2 separate regions of the Homo sapiens genome follow, and region 2 is linked to region 1. The links are contacts of gene promoters, found by promoter capture Hi-C in human tissues and cell types (Jung and others, 2019). All regions are on one chromosome and are shown on one strand. Each heading gives the region's core, a stretch centred on a gene start or on the middle of the fragment in contact. The rest is flanking DNA. Distances are from core to core; before and after follow the strand shown.

What was found. The method cuts DNA at HindIII sites, captures the fragments that hold promoters and counts their contacts. A contact is called where the count stands out against the background at its distance.
Region 2: a fragment that was not itself captured here is called in contact with the fragment with the promoter of CPAMD8 in region 1 in 1 of the 25 tissues and cell types used here (thymus).

The regions. Positions count from the first base shown.
Region 1 is chr19:17,025,470-17,028,190 of GRCh38, reverse strand. CPAMD8 (C3 and PZP like alpha-2-macroglobulin domain containing 8) reads left to right here and starts at 1,381. Exons shown (of 42, transcript NM_015692.5): 1 at 1,381-1,640. The coding sequence starts at 1,549. RefSeq lists an enhancer at 301-1,209. The HindIII fragment of the contact is 4,679 bases long and covers 1-2,721 here.
Region 2 is chr19:17,422,490-17,425,478 of GRCh38, reverse strand. It overlaps MVB12A (multivesicular body subunit 12A), which reads right to left. Exons shown (of 9, transcript NM_138401.4): 5 at 1,862-1,981; 6 at 1,680-1,786; 7 at 1,412-1,473; 8 at 802-858; 9 at 147-548. The coding sequence ends at 486. Among named protein-coding and RNA genes, the nearest start is that of MVB12A, 3.9 kb to the right of the region's middle. RefSeq lists an enhancer at 1,101-1,626. The HindIII fragment of the contact is 7,886 bases long and covers 1-2,989 here.

The sequences.
Region 1 (2,721 bases), core at 132-2,631:
AGGAGTTGGACTGGCAAAGGAGGCAGGTAGAGGAAGACAGAGATTAGGCAGAAGCAGGCAGTGGAGTAAGAACAGGGTGTTGGAGGAACTAGGCTGAGGTCTCTGCCATCAAAGCCAGAGTTTAGATTTGGTCTCAATAAACGGGAAGCCCTGGCTGGATGTGGTGGCTCACACCTGTAATCCCAGCACTTTGGGAGGCTGAGGAGGGAGGATCATTTGAGCCCAGTGCTCAAGACCAGCCTGGGCAACACAGTGCGACTCCGTTTCTAAAAAAAAATATATAAAAATTAGCTGGGTGCGGGCTTGCACCTGTAGTCCCAGCTACTCTCCAGGAGTCTGAAGCTGCAGTGAGCTGTGACTGCACCACTAAATTCCTGCCTGGGCAACAGAGCAAAACTCTGGTCTCAAAACATAAAAATAAAATGTAAAATAAACAGGGAGCCCCGAGGATTCCGGGCAGGAGGGGGTGTGGTCAGCACTGGAATTTTAGAAGAAGGGCAGTTGGTAGCTGGGGGAAGGGGGTTCCACACTGGAAGGAGGGGGTCCAGGACTTGGACATGGTATAGGATGTGCCGCCTGCCAGTGGGACCTAGGACAGCAGGACCATCACTGAGGTGGCCACACGGGGAGGGGCAGGAGGGGACACCCTGCTCTTGGAGAGAAAGGGGGTGCCCATCCACCCCTGCTGTATGAAGGGGAAAGGGGGACTCTGAGGCCCAGCGAGAGAGGGGACGGGCCCAAGGGATTTGTGGACAGTGGGGGTGGGGGAGAGGGGAGCAGAGAGCACAGATAGGGACCTGGGGCAGATGTGAGTCTGGGAGGTTCGACCCCTGGCTAGACTGTTTCCCCAAAGGGTCCTCTGCTCCTTGGGCTGTACGCACTGCACTGGGCACTAGATACAGGCCAGGGCTTAGGGCACGGCGGCGCCTGTGGGATCGGGGTTGCAGGCGGCGTCCAGACCCAGGGGCCCCTGGTGAGGGGCGGGCCCGGGGAGGGGGCCATAAGGGGCTGGCTGGGGAGGGAGGGAGGGAGAGGCCAGGGAAGGGACAGGTTCCGAGTGGACGCTGGGTGGAGAGGAGAGGGAGAGTGGGGGCGGTGGGGGGTCGGGTCCGAGGCGGGGCTGGTGGGGAGGGGGGCATCCGGGGGCGAATCCGGGTAGGGGGTGAGGAGGCGGGTTCGGAAGGAATCGGGCAGGGCCCGGGTGGGTCCGGTGAGTAAGTGAGGGGACGATCCCCGGAAGGGATCGGGGCGGGTCGGGGTCCGGAGATGGGCGGAGCAGGCGTCCCGGGAGGGTGCGCCCAGGAGCGGGGCGAGCGGGGCGAGCGGGGCGGTCCCGGAGACGAGGCGGGTCCGGGGAGGGGGCTGGCCCGGGGCTGCCCCAGCTTGGCCGGGCGCGGAGCGGGGCGCATGGCGCCGGGCGCACTGCGCGGGGGCTGCGAACAAAGGGCCCCCGGCGGCGGCGCGAGGACGGCCGCGCTCGGACCCTGGCCCTGGCCCAGCCCTGGCCCGGCCCCCTCCCCAGGCGCGGCGCCCCCCAGGAGCCGAAAAATGAGCGGCGCCCTGCTCTGGCCGTTGCTCCCGCTCCTGCTCCTGCTGCTGTCGGCGCGGGACGGCGTGCGCGCCGCGCAGCCTCAGGCCCCGTGAGTATCCTCCGGCGACAGAGGAGGTCGGTCGCCTTCTGGGGTGGGGGTCGCGGGTACTGGCTCAGAGTGTTGCAGCGACCTGCCCAAGGCCACACAGCCTCCGCGCTGGGCTGGACCTGGCCTCTTGTTCCCGAATCGTCTTGAGGAGGGGGCGCCCTAAAGTTTCCGAAGTGGCTCTGTGGAGGTACAGGGACTCCCAAAAGCTAAAGGTGCTGAGGTCAGCTCCCCCCGCCCCACCTCGCCCCCTTCGTGTGACCCGGGCTGTCATCATGGGTGGCGATTTCCAGTTGTCCAAGGTATGAAGGTAAGAGGAGCGTCTTGGCTGAGAAGTGGGAGGAGAGTGCGAAGGGGCACTTTCCCGTGGGTGGGCGTGGTGAGGGAGGAGGAAGTGTTTGTTTTGCTTCTACATTTTTCTAGAGGTTTGCTTGCAGGCTTCTGGTGGGTTGACAGCGGGGAGAAGGTGAATTAACTAACTGCTGGGGAGTACTGCTAAGTTGGCTTCACAGAGAATATTTCTAAACCTGGCAAGTTCGGGTGAGCTCTGCAGGGCTGCGGGTTCAGGGGGGCTGCCCTGGTCTGCACAAGACCAGCCTTTTAGTCCAGCTGGGCGTTTAGAAGGCGGCTTGTTCAAGCAGCCCTTGTTTAGGAGTTTCCAGAAAACTGGTAAGCAGTGAGACTAGGTGGGTGTCGTTATTTGCAGTGAGTAGTTGGTCCTTGCTGGTCACAGTTTTAAAAGCAAGACAGTCTACTGCGCTCTGAGCATCCAGACTTCCCTCTCCTAGGCTTCGTGAAATCGGAACCCTACAAATTTTCATCCTAATGCTTCTTTCAAAGCTGGCATCCCTTAGAATAGTGGTTCTCAGCCCTGGGGGGGATTTTTGTCTCCCTGAGGCCGCTGGGAAATGTCTGGAGGTATTTTTGGTTGTCACAAATAGGGAGAGGCATTTGGTGTTGGCATTAAGTGGGTGCAGGCCAGGAATGCTGGTAAACAGCTTTCGATGTGCAGGTCAGCTTCCACTGCAAGGAATGACGCGGCCCCACATGACAGACCTTGGCTCCAATGAGAGACCCTGCCTTA
Region 2 (2,989 bases), core at 431-2,930, 400 kb before region 1:
GTCTCAGAAAAAAACAAACAAACAACAACAACAACAACAACAACAAACGGGAGACCCAGCAGCACCGCCTCCCTGCCATGATTTCACCCACTTGCCCGGTGCAAGAGTGCCTAGTGTGGACAGGCGGCAGGATCAGGACTCCAGAGGGCGAGAACCGGGTAGTGTTTATTGCCAGGAGGACACCCGCACAGCCTCCGGACCCCAGAGGGTTTTGACACAAATGACTTAAAGGCACTGGCTTCTGTCCAGCTCCAGCCCTGCCCGGCAGGGCGTGGGGGCGGAGACCCCATCACCACGCAGCCTCGACCCGCCCCCTCCTCCAGGGCTGCAGCTCCGCCCAGTGGCTGAAGATAGCAAACGCCTTGCAGGGCGAAGGTTCCCAGGATGCAGTGAGTGGGGGTGGCCCCAGGATGCAGTGAGGGGGGGTGGCCCCAGGCTGGCGGGGAGGTGGAGTAAGGGGGCTCTTTCCGCGGAAGGGTGAGGGACTATGAGACGCTGGGGGGCAGGCGGGCAGCCGCGGTCTTCTCCACCACGAAGCCGTAGTTATACTGGGGGATGGGGAGAGAGAGAGTGAACAGGTGCCAGAGTAAAGAGAGGGCCAAAGGGGGAGTGACTGAGGAATGGCAGAGTGGGTACTTAGGGACTTGAGTGGTCTTCTGCCCTGGAGAGATGGTGTGTGTCTGGGGCAAAGCGGGGATGGGGAAAACTGGGACAGCCTGGGGCGGACGAGGGGCGGGTGCCGGCCCCTCAGGCACCTCCTCCCTAGCCCTGCACCCACCTCCTCCCTAGCCCTGCACCCACCTCCTCCTCAATGTCCGCCAGAGACTTGATGGTCAGGTCCCCAAAAGCAGAGAAGGCCTGGCGGGCAGAGGTGGGTCAGCCTTGGGCCCGATCTCAACCTGAAACCCCCTTTCCTTCGTCTTCAAGGGGTCCTGCCCTCCCCCCAACACTCCCCGAATATTCCCTCGGACATCCCTCCCCCTTATTTTTCTTGTTTGTTTTGTTTTGTTTTTAGAGACAAAGTCTCTAAAGCCGCGCCTGGCTAATTTTTGTATTTTCAATAGAGACGAGGTTTCACCATGTTGGCCAGGCTGGTCTCGATCTCCTGGCCTCAAGTGATCCACCTGCCTTGGTCTCCCAAAGTGCTGGGATCACAGTCGTGAGCCACCATGCCCAGCATCCCTCCCCCTTCTTGTCACAGCCTCTAGCTACTGGTGTCCAGCTGCTTTCTCTGGATGGATCCCTCCCCATTCTAAGACTGAAGACCTTCCAGCTGCCACCTGGAGGTGACACACTCCAGCCCCAACCCAGGATGTGGCCCTCTGTGCTGGGGCACTGGATACAGGGATGTCCTGGCACCCAGAATGGTGATGGCAGGCGCAGACCCAGGCTCCCTGAGACCCCGACTCACCAGGGGGCTGCAGCTCTTGCCCTCAAATCGTGGGTGGAGTGTGAAGGGAACCCCATCCATGGCTGAAAAACACGTGCGAGGGGAGGAGGTGAGGTGTAGGGAACTGCCCACCCCACCCACAGAGGCCCAACCCGCACAGCCTGGCTCCTTCAGTCTTTACAGAATCCAGAGTTGGGAGAGGGAAGTAGGAAGATCCTTCCTGGTTGTGTAATCTCAAGACAGTCACACCCTCCACTTCCACGCCTCAGTTTCCCCACTCTGTGCTCACCTGAGATGCCATAGAGGCTGGAGGCCTCGTAGATGGAGTCATTCCTCCGCAGAGTGGATGCCCGAGAGCCCAGCCTTGACGCTGTCCGCTCCAGGAGGCCGCCCTTACTGGAGGTGGGATGACTCAGGTTAAGCCTCATCCTCCCACAACGGCCACCCCCACTCCGGTGCCTGAGGACTCACCTTGGCTGGCTGGCTGCATCCAGAGAGAGGCCCTGCATGTCCCGGCTGAGACCTCGGGGCTTGGGCACTGGCCTCGGGGCCTTGGCCTTCTTGCACCAGATGGCAAAGCCGCCCATGTCCCTGGACCAGGAGGGAAGGTGGGAGGGATGCTGGCCCGGTGTGGGGCCAGGGTTGAGGATAGCCCCTGGAGAAGGCGGGGGACCCGGGCATGCAGGTGACCTCTGTCTTTTGGGGGAATTTTTTTTTTTTTTTTTTTTGGGGACGGAGTTTCGCTCATGTTGCCCAGGCTGGAGTGCAATGGCGCAATCTAGACTCACTGCAATCTCCACCTCCCAGGTTCAAACGATTCTCCTGCCTCAGCCTCTGGATTAGCTGGGATTACAGGCAACCATGCCCAGCTAATTTTTTTTTTTTTTTTTTTTTTTTAAGTAGAAACGGAGTTTCACCATGTTGGCCAGGCTGGTCTCGAACTCCTGACCTCAGGTGATCCGCCCGCCTTGGCCTTCCAAAGTGCTGGGACTACAGGCGTGAGCCACCGTGCCCAGTCTTTTGGGGGATTTTTGTTTCAGCATCTTGACCCACACCCGAAGCACCACACCAAACTAATACTGCTGGGTTCAAATCACCGTTCTGTCTACTTTATTTTTATTTATTTTATTTTATTTTTGAGACGGAGTCTCGCTCTGTCGCCCCAGACTGGAGTGCAGTGGCGCGATCTCAACTCACTGCAACCTCCGCCTTCCAGGTTCAAGTGATTTTCCTGCCTCAGCCTCCCAAGTAGCTGGGACTACAGGCGTGTGCCACCATACCCGGCTAATTTTTTGTATTTTCAGTAGAGATGGGGTTTCAACATGTTAGTCAGGATGGTCTCGATCTCCTGACCTTGTGATCGGCCCGCCTCAGCCTCCCAAAGTGCTGGGATTACAGGCGTGAGCCACCGCGCCCAGTCCTGTTATGTCTACTTTAGACACCAAGTCACTGACTCCTAATGACAGTCCTACAAGATGATATATATGTCCCGGTTTTAACATGCAGAATCTGAGGCTCAGAAGGTAGAAGAAGGAACAGGAGACCTCAGGGGTGTCCTTGAGGGTCAGATTGGTGAGATCATGAGTTGGGAGGGCAGGG